Regions from separate parts of the Homo sapiens genome. Here regions 2 and 3 are each linked to region 1. Evidence: promoter capture Hi-C in 16 types of primary human blood cells and fetal thymus (Javierre and others, 2016). All regions are on one chromosome and are shown on one strand. The core of a region is centred on a gene start or on the middle of the fragment in contact, and the rest is flanking DNA. Distances in the headings are between cores, read along the strand shown.

Evidence for each region. The method cuts DNA at HindIII sites, captures the fragments that hold promoters and counts their contacts. A CHiCAGO score of 5 or more calls a contact.
Region 2: a fragment that was not itself captured here is called in contact with the fragment with the promoter of AGPAT3 in region 1 in 3 of 17 cell types (endothelial precursors, M1 macrophages and M0 macrophages); the score reaches 7.7 in endothelial precursors.
Region 3: a contact is called between a fragment that was not itself captured here and the fragment with the promoter of AGPAT3 in region 1, in 2 of 17 cell types (megakaryocytes and erythroblasts). The highest score is 6.4, in megakaryocytes.

What each region holds. Positions count from the first base shown.
Region 1 is chr21:43,863,549-43,866,810 of GRCh38, forward strand. It overlaps AGPAT3 (1-acylglycerol-3-phosphate O-acyltransferase 3), which reads left to right and starts at 1,675. Exons shown (of 10, transcript NM_020132.5): 1 at 1,675-1,797. RefSeq lists silencers at 734-1,093, 1,644-1,993, 2,114-2,433. The HindIII fragment of the contact is 5,864 bases long and covers 1-2,676 here.
Region 2 is chr21:43,982,980-43,986,241 of GRCh38, forward strand. AGPAT3 (1-acylglycerol-3-phosphate O-acyltransferase 3) reads left to right here. Exons shown (of 10, transcript NM_020132.5): 10 at 1-3,262. Among named protein-coding and RNA genes, the nearest start is that of TRAPPC10, 28 kb to the right of the region's middle. RefSeq lists enhancers at 1-512, 2,965-3,262 and a silencer at 2,145-2,204. The HindIII fragment of the contact is 4,574 bases long and covers 1-3,262 here.
Region 3 is chr21:43,937,368-43,940,629 of GRCh38, forward strand. All of the region lies in intron 2 of AGPAT3 (1-acylglycerol-3-phosphate O-acyltransferase 3), which reads left to right. Among named protein-coding and RNA genes, the nearest start is that of TRAPPC10, 73 kb to the right of the region's middle. RefSeq lists enhancers at 728-777, 1,056-1,956, 1,314-1,713, 1,957-2,855. The HindIII fragment of the contact is 4,356 bases long and covers 1-3,262 here.

The DNA of each region.
Region 1 (3,262 bases), core at 425-2,924:
CTCAGGCTTCCTGTGATTATAGGTATAGCTGTAAGTCAGCACATCCCTGTATCCACACATCCCGTGGTGCCTGTGAGAATTTATCTGTGGCACAGATTACCCAAAATGACATGAGGGGTGAGAGGTTTTACAAATGGTGAATTCCACGAGCTTTGCAAATCTTAACTCCTTTTTCAAGAATAAGGGAACTGTGAGTAGGACAGGTGCACGGTACTTTCATTTTATTTTAGTCTAAGTATTTTCTGAAATAATTTGAGGAGGCTTAAAGGGAGGTGCAAGCTGGGTGCGGGGGCTCATACTTGTAATCCCAGCACTTTGAGAGGAGGAGGTGGGAGAATACTTGAGCTCAGGAGTTCGAGATCAGCCTGGGCAACACCGTGAGGCCCCATTTCTACAAAAAAAATTTTTTTTAAATTAGCCAGACATGGTGGTGTGTGCCTGTGGTCCCAGCTACTTGGGAGGCTGAGGTGGGAGGATCACTTGAGCCCTGGAGTTCAAGGCTTCAGCGAGCTATGATTGTACCACTGCACTCCAGGGTGGGCGACAGAGCAAGACCCTGTCTCAATAATAATAAAAATAAAAAAAAAAAAAAGGAAAAAAAGGGGCACAGTAGACAGTACCAGTACTTGGTATTTTAAATGGTTTTCAAATGAAGCCCACCCAAGCTCAGCAAGTCCAGCCGGGGCCTGAGGACCTGAGCAGGCGCCAGGTCACACAAGGTACCGGGCGCAGGAGGCGGAGCCCGCAGCGGGCCCTGCCCTGACAGCGGCACCTGCGCGGCCTCCGCAGGTTCTGGGATCGGCCGCTGGCCAGGTGCAAGGGAGGGGGGACGGCAGCCGCTGTCCTGGGGCTGAGAGGGCTCCGCGGTCTGGAGGGGACGGCGTCAGCGCCCGCGGGGGTTCGCAGGGCAGCCCCGGGGCGACCCCCACCCCCGCCACGGTCAAGTGTCGATACAGTGTTGCCAGCCGGGTGCCAACTATGAATAAGTCCAAGGGCGCGGCACGTGGGCCGAAACGCGATCCTTCCGCGGAGCCGCTGCGCGCAGGGCCGTCCCCACCGAGCCCGCCGCGCGGCGACCCCTGACGGCGACCCTAAGCCCCGGCCGACCAGGGCAGGAGCTCGCGCGCGAAACTTCCCCGGCGCCCGCAGGAGACCCCGGCAGGGGAGATGGCGGGGCCCAGGCAGAGCTCGGAGGCCCCTCCCGGCCCCACCCCGCGCCCCGGCCCCCTCTGCCCCCGACCCGGTCCGGGGGAGCCCTCGCGGGACCCCAGCCTGGTCCTTCGCCGCCTCCCCCCGTTCAGCCCCGACCCCCCTGATCCCCGCGCCCCCCGCGGTCCCGGCCCGCCCCCTCCCCCAGCCCGGGCCCCAGCCCCGTCCGTTAGCGGATCCCACGCAGGCTCCGCGCCCGGCCCCGCCGGCGCCCTCGGCCCACACCTCTCTCCGCGCGCGTGTCCCGCCGTGTCGCCCCCGTGTCCCCTCCGCGTCCCCCCCCGCGCCGTCCCCCCGCGTCCCCCCCCGCGTCCTTCCCCCGTGTCCCCCCAGCGTGTCCCTCGGCCGCCCCGCGCGCGCCGGCGGAACTGTGGGATCGCCGCGCACAGGAAGTGGCGGCGGCGGCGCGGCCGAGGGCGGAGGGCGGAGGGCGGCGGGATGGGGGCCGGGGGCGGCGGGCGCCGCACTCGCTGAGGCCCCGACGCAGGGCCGGGCCGGGCCCAGGGCCGAGGAGCGCGGCGGCCAGAGCGGGGCCGCGGAGGCGACGCCGGGGACGCCCGCGCGACGAGCAGGTGGCGGCGGCTGCAGGTGAGCACCGAGGCCCCCACCCGAGGTCGGGCCGCCCCCCTCTTCCCCCACGCCCCGCCGCCGCCCGAGGTCGCCCTCCCGCCGCCGGAGGTCGCCCCTGCCCCAGCCGTCCGACCTCGGGCCGCCCGGGGCCCCGCGCCGCAATGGGCCGGCCGCGCTCCGCGGGGCGCGGGGCCTGGGAAGGCGCGGGGCCGGGAGGAGGTCTGGGCCCGGGTCCTGTGCGCCCCCCGCAACCCCGGCCTCCCCGGCGGCCTGGTCCAGCGCGAGGCCCCGGCCGCTTCCCGCAGCAGCCTCGGTGGCGCTGGGCCCAGCGGGGAGGCCCGGGGGTTCGGGGCGCCCGGGAGGGGCCCGGGCCGGGCCGAGGGAGGGCGAGTGGGTTCCCGCGGGGACGTCCCATCCCTCCGTCCTGGACTCTGCTCCGGGCCCCGCTCGGCTCCCCCGTGGACAGGACGCGCCCGCCGCCTGGTTTCGGGGCGCGGCGGACCCGGGACCCCCCCCAGGGGCCTCCTCCTCGCGCGCCCAGGCCAAGGGAGCAGTTTCACTTTTGCCGCTCCGCGCGGGGAGGGCTGCGGGGCCCGGGGTTGGCTGTGGGTTCGGCCCGGAGACCGGCGGCGCGTTTGCACCGGGCGGGTCAGGGGATGGGGTCAGTCCGGGGGCAAGAGCCGTGGGGGCGAAAACCCACTCCTGGCCACCCCAGGACCCTTGGAACATTGGTCCCAAGTACTTAGGAAAGGAGGGTTATTAGTATTTGAAGGCAGTTAAAAATGGTGCAGTGTTTTTTTTTTTTTTTTTAACTTTGAGAGAAGTTTAGTGACATGGGGAAAATGCTTTTATAAATGGCTTCCCAGACCTTTAAAAAAAAAAAAGCACAATTTTAAAAGCTTTGTCTAGGAGAATACTTGAGCAGTTGGGTTCTTTTTCCTGGGAAACATGATCTTAGTAGAAGAAAGATGTGGGCTGTTGGCCTCCAGACAGAGGGTGATGAGCATGCGGCTCTTATTAAAAATGAAAGCCAACGCCGAGAGCCTGCTGGGGGCTGGGAGGTGGGGCGGGCGGCGGGCCCAGGCTGCTAGAGGGACCCAGGATCCTGCAGCTTTTAAATTGCAGGCGCGGCTGCTCCGACTCGACTCGCTTAGGAATTGCTGAACTTCGTCTTCTCAGTTTGAAAGCTTCAGAGGGGTCTCCCGAGGATGCTGAGCACTCTCTTGATTTGGCCACTTCTTTGCCGCCCCCCCTCCCTCTTTCCAACCAATCCTCCTCCCCCACAGAGTTCGGCGTTAGCCTGTGCCTGTTACAACTCGCTTCTTGTATCCATTTCTGGTTAGTCTTAAGTATCTTCTTGAGGACATTGTCTAAAAAGCAGCTGCATGCCATTGACATTCAGACAGAACAGGGCCCCTTGGCCTTAGAAGGTGTAGGGGCCTTAAATATTCTGAAGGTGACTTCATGGAGTGGCCGCCCTCTG
Region 2 (3,262 bases), core at 360-2,859, 120 kb after region 1:
GTCCTGGGGCTGGCTGAGGGCGAACGCCCCACCTCACTTTCTAGAGCCCTGTCTGTCCTAGCTCCTATCTGACCTTGTGTGTAAATACGTACATCTGTTTTTAAAGTGGATGGGCCCCTGAGAACTCAGTGAAATGCAGAGTTCTCCATGCACCTAAAGCTCCTTTGTCGCTCTCATGGCTGTCAGATCCTGGTCCCTCCACACTGGGTGCTGGGGAGGGAGGACCCTCGGGGCTACCGCGCGCCCCCCCATCCCACAGATCAGGAGCCAAGGAGGGAGAACAGGGCAGCCTGTGGGACTCTAGGATGCTTCAGAAGAAGCGACGGCACCGTCAACCCTCTGTTTTTTAAAGGTGGTTGGAGACTGTTAACACTGAGCTCATTGACTTCTAGAGATTTTATTTTTACTGGTTGATCTCTTGGTGGTTTTCAACTTCCTGCTGGAAACTAGAGGTGGGGCACCCCCCACCCCCCAGCCTCGCACTGTGTCCTTGGGGAAGGCCCGCCCCCATCCTGGCCGGTGTCACTGTGGCCCGGCCACCCCTGAGCGCCCAGCTCCCTACCTCCTGGACGTCTCTGAGAGTCCAGGCAGAGCAGAGGGCAGCGCTCGGCCGGTCATGCTGGCTCCCTTGGCCTTGCAGCGAGCCCCTGGCCCACGCCGAGCGAGGGATGCTTCTCCCTACAGCATGTCCACTCCCCCGGCATGGCCAGGTGGGGCCCCTGGGGCAATGGCAGTGGTAGAACGCTCAACTTGGTTGCGGTACCATCAGCCCACCTGCATTTGGCTTTCGACTTGCTTGTTCTAAGTCACAGCGCCCTCATCTTTTTAGCAAGGTAAAAAAACCAAAATGGGTGTTATCTCTGATATCTTGAAACCAGCGTTCTGAATAGAGGTAGGTTGAGTTTTCTAGGGGAAAACAAATGGAGAAAAGAGGCATGAAGAAAAGTAAACCGAGAACATAATTAGGCATCGGGCCTAAGTGTCCTGGGGAGATTGGAGGGGACGGCAGCGTTCTGCATGATGGAGGCGCTGCCGGGCCCCGGGTCTGTGGGGGCCGTGCTCTCAGGGCGTGTGCGGGACGCCACCTGTGCACACCTGCTCAGAGCACGGCTCCTCGCAGGGGTGAAGGGGCAGACCAACGAAACCAGATGAGACCAACGACACCATGCGAGACACGCTTGCAGACACTGTTGTTTTGGAAATGTGCTTCCCTCCATCTGAAATCTCATCCCTCCACCCGCCCACTCGGGCAGCTGTGCCGTGGGCAGGGCATGCGCTCCCCTGGCTGAGCACCCCAGAGATTCTCCTGCACCTTCCTCATGCCGCACGCTGCTCATCCGTCTCCATGTGTGTTTAGATCCATGCCATTCACTGACTCACTAACACCTGCAAAATCTTTAAGGAAAAAAGCTGAAGGGTACGACCATGCACATATGTGACCTGGAAAATGCAAATTTAGATCTTTTATGATTTAATTATTATTGTTTCCCATAGAAGTTCCCTCCCTTTGAAATTAATATATAATGTATAAATTCTGCACTGAGCCATGGCGGAGCTGGGCAGCCCCTAGGTTAGAGTGGAGACGGAGGCCCAGGCGCAGGGGTCACACCTCATCTGGTTTCCTTCCCATCTCACAGCTTAGCTTGTGCTTCTCAACACCAAGTCTTTAAGAGCAATAAAAACTACACCATGAATGTTTGAATTTTTTTTTTTTGGGGGGGGGAGGGTGGATTTTGCTTTTCATCCAGAAGGAAAAGGGGAGGAGAGCTCCTTTACATTTTTTAAATTAAATTCATAAATCCCAGAACAGTCTTTTTTTTTTCTTTTTCCTTTACACCCTACTTCTGAGCTTAATTCAGTTGATGTTATGTCCAAATTCAGGCTGAGTGCTCAGGCTGAAGCAACTCTGTAGCCCACAGTCCGTGCTGGCCACTGTCGGGGTGAGGCACATTCTAGGCCTGGCATCGCTGATGCCCTCTGCACCCAGTCCTTGAGCCAGGCCGAGGACAGGAAGGGCATTGCTGGCCTGTAGCTCCTGTTACCCACCCAGAGCCAGGCGCCACACTGGAGGCTCCCAGGCGGGAGGGCCCAGGCCCACCCACGGGCGTCTGGCCGGTCAAGCTCCCAGCCTGGGCCGTGGTCTCCTGGGGACGCCGCTGGCCTCCCAGCTTAGGCCCAGGTGCCAGGTGTCATGGGGTCTCCTGCCCATCTTCCCAAGGATGCCATTGCTGTCTTCATCGTCTTCCCCCGTGTGAGACACTGGTTGTCTGGTACTCGGCGACAGTGTACCAGACGCGCACCCTATGTGAGGTGCTTTAAGGTCCCTGTCCTCAGGAAGCGCAGTCTGGTGGAAGAGATGAGCGCTGAACAAATCACTAAATAACACAAAACAACAATGTAAGCAGCACTTTCTTGTGTAAAAAAAAAAAAAAAGCACGTCCTGTCGATGAATTTTGAGTCTCTCTGCCTTGCCTGTCCCGACTCCCTTTCGCGCACCGTGGCATGAGAATCTTTCCTCACGCTGTTCGTTGCGGTATTGCTGAGCATTGATGTTGATTTGAAGGAAAAGCCGTGGTTGGACCCAGCTGTGTGTTTCACTCACGTGCAATTGAGTAGCTGTTGCCAGGCTGTCCATGCCTGTTGTGACTACCGGTTGGGGTCAGATTTGGGGTGAAGAATGAGTAAGTTTCTGCATGCTTTGTCTCTACCTGAGACACTTCTACAACAAGCCAAGTATAATCTCTCCAGCCCTGCAGATTTTCACCTGACTTGTTCAGCCCCATGCGTAGACTCCCGCTGCAGGCCTCTGGCCTGTGGCTCACTGCATGCAGCCCCTGGCGTGCAATACTAGTGCTCCACGGCGCGATGTGCTTCTAGCCCTTGCACTGCACCTAGGCTCAGGGTTCAAACGGCCAGCCCGAAAAGCCTGCCTGCCTTCTTTCTGGAAACAGCACGTCCCCGGCCGTGTGCCTGCCCCTTTCTCTACTGAGCTAGTCCCCAAACCAAAGGCAAGCCCCCTCGGGCCTCGGGGGATGGGGCCGGCCACACCCCTGACTCCGCCCTGGCTCTGCCCCATACCCCTGCCGTGGGGCCGACCTGGGGGATGCAGACATCCGGCTCCGTATTCCTGCCTATCGGGGCCAGGATGCAAAAACAATTTTTGCGTAAAAGATGTCACACTGATCTGCTGGAGTGGGGTGGACACATGAATTCAGTTTTATCATGAACACTCGCCACTGGCTGCTTGTTAATTCAGGGATAA
Region 3 (3,262 bases), core at 476-2,975, 74 kb after region 1:
CCTCTACGCTGGCCTTTGCTTGGCTTGGCGGAGGCGCGCAAGGCCCCTGACTATATCTGTTCCTCCTCTGGGCCACCCTCTAGGTTGCTTTCCACTGCAGGCCTGTCTCCTTGAGGTGACATCGTGGCTGCCTCTGCACCAGCCATCACAACTTGATACAGATAAGTCTGATGTCAGGAAAAGGGAGTTTTTTTTGTTTTGTTTTGTTTTTCTGGAGACAGGGTCTCCCTCTGTCACTAAGGCTTAAGTGCAGTGGCGCAATCGTGGCTCACTGCAGCCTTGAACTCCTGTGTTCAGGTGATCCTCCTGCCTCCGAAAGTGCTGGAATTACAGGCGTGAGCCACCATGCCTGGACAGGAAAAGGGAAATTTCTTTTTGCAACCTTTTGTCAGGGGCTGAAACCTTTCTGGAAGCTCCAAAAGACTCCTTTCTCTCTCTCATTAACTATCTCTAAGGCAGTCATTAGGACGCATCCCATGAAACCAGATGACTTCTGCATAGCCATTGCCTTCTATACCTCAGGCAGGTTCTTGTTAGAAGAAGTGCCAGGCAGAGGTTGTGTGGGCAGCCAGTCATATTTGCATATTTTGGGGTGACTGTGCAGACAGTGCTGGACCAAGGAAGTTGTCTGGGTCCTCGCTGCAGAGGGAGGAGGAAGCAGCTCACACGCTTGCTGTTGTCTGGTGGGAGGGCTGCATTTCTCCTCTCTCCCCCACTTTCTCTCTCTCTCTCTCTCTCACACACACACAGACACACACACACACACACACACACTCACACTCACTGTTGGGTTTCTTGGGCTGCTAACAGGATTAAATGAATGTCTTGGTTCCATGATGTGCATGTTACGCTAGAGAGCTAAGTTAGTTAACATCGCTCATTGGGATAGAAGGAACGTACTGAGGAACGTACTGAGGATTAGAAGTCAGAATTCTTGAATCTGCAAATCTTTTTTTTTTTTTTTTTTTTTTTTTGAGACAGAGTCTTGCTCTTGTTGCCCAGGCTGGAGTGCTCACTGTAACCTCTGCCTCCCGAGTTCAAGCGATTCTCCTGCCTCAGCCTCCTGAGAAGCTGGGATTACAGGCATGCTAATTTTTTGTATTTTTAATAGAGACAGGGTTTCACCATGTTGGCCAGGCTGGTCTCAAACTCCTGACCTCAGGTGATCCACCAGCCTCGGCCTCCCACAGTGCTGGGATTACAGGTGTGAGCCACCGTGCCCGGCCTGCAAATCTTCTATTTTGTTCAGACACTAACTCCAGCCCTATAAATAGTCATCCAATACTTCCAGTAAATGGTGCGCCTCATATTGATCTGCCTGGTTGCCTTACCGTGTTTGTTACATTGCTGTGTAACGAGTTACCCACAAACTTAGCAGCGAAAACAGCAGACATCTATTATCTCACACAGCTGCGGAGGGTCAGGAATCCAGGAGTGGCTTAGCGGGCGATTCTGGGTGTCACGTGGAGTCACATGGGGTCAATGTGTTGGCCGGGGATGCAGTCACCTGAAGCCTTGTGGGGGGAAGGAGGGGCTCCCCCAGGCCTGGGAAGGCTGCGGCTGCCCCATCACGCTCTCTCCTCCACCAGGTTCACAGGTTCACAGAAGTAAAGGCTGAGCATGTCAGGACTGAGCTGAGCGGTTCCCACCTCTCAGTCCACAGTTTCCCACAGAGCACGCAGGGGCCGCACCAGGGCTGGGACGGGGCTGCGACCAGGCTAGGGGAGCATCCTGGGCAAACCCTGCTGGGGACAGGTTCGTTGTGTCTGATGCCGTGGGAGATGCACGAGCAGTGACTTTCACTTTATCCCACTGTGGCCCCGTGACCCTGAGCGAGAATGCACTGGCCGGGCCTCCAGGGGGCGCTCCCTTAGGAACACCCCATCCCCGTCCCCGTGTGCTGTCGAGGGCCTCTAGCGGGCGCTCCCTTGATAACACCCCACCCCCGTCGCTGTTGTTGTCGGGGGCCTCCCGCGCCCCAGGAGGTTTCCCAGGGCGATGCTCTGGTCCCTGGGTCCTTTGATCTCATCTCCCTAGTTTAGCCTTTGAACTCCATTTCAGATTGAGAGGTTTCAGGCTGGAGTGACATGGAGGGACGTGCCTGACTTCTGGAGGATAAGAGGCGGCCCACCCCACAGCTCTTCCAGCGTGGGAGCTCTGAACATGGGACCCGGAGCACCACCGTTTAGCAAACCTTGCTGCAGTTTGGAGAGAGTGTCGCGGGCGCCTGGCCTGTCCGGCAGGCTGGGTGGCTGTTCTCTGTTGAGCCCACAGCCATGCCCCACATGCAGGACGTTTGCCTATCACTTGGAGGCCTTTCAGGGATCTTGCTAGCCCACGGCTGAGCACAGGGTAGACCTCACCAACTCACCCACAACCTGGCCCCTTGACACACTGGTGCTGTGAGGAGGAAGATGTGGGCACTCTTAGGTCCCTGGTCCTAGGGGTCTGTGCTGGGGTGGGGCTCGTTGACCTGCATCCTGGCTGGCCCTGTGACTCTGCCTGTTTACAGTGAGCAGCTCCTGGCCAAAAGCTGCTTATTGGATTAGCCGGTGCCCCGACGGCAGAGCCCGCAGCTGTGCGCAGGAGGACGAACCTGTGTGTATGTCCTGCTTCAGCGCGCTCCTGGGGTCCCTTGAGTTGGTCTCTGTGACTAGAAGGACAGTGCTGGCCACGCAGGTGGCACCCTGGGGGTGCCCAGCACCCACTTCCTGCTGAGCAGATGCTCTGGGTGGCAACGGCCCCTGCCAAGCCTGGGCAGCTCAGGCCAGGTCCTAATCCCTCCGCTTGAGCTCGGCTCCTCACCCTTTGGCCAGGCTGACACCTGCTCCCCGCAGGTCCTTCTCGCCGGCTTCAGGCAGCACAGGACCGAGGGCTGAAGATGCTGAGCAGCTACCCGGCCTGCCTCTTCTCAGGGATCTGTGTGGCCCTGCTGGCGGTGGCTTTGGCCTATTACTTCTACTGGTGAGTGAGGCCGGGGCCCGGGGGCCTGGGCAGTCCTGGGGGCCTTTACTGTGTGCTCCCCTCCTCTTCCAGCCCTGGACCGTTCTCTGCATGTCAACAAACCCTGCCTAGCCCTTTGCAGGGGAACTCCTGGGAGGTAGGGAAGCAGGGGATGGCAGGAACTCATTCTGATCCCTCCTGGGGTCCTTGGGCAGCTCTCCCATCCTTCTGCAAAGGGGTTTTTGTTCAGAACATTCCTGAAGGAGCTGAGCGGTTTCATACCATCTGGGCGGTGTTTGTAGATGCCTGGCATGTCCTG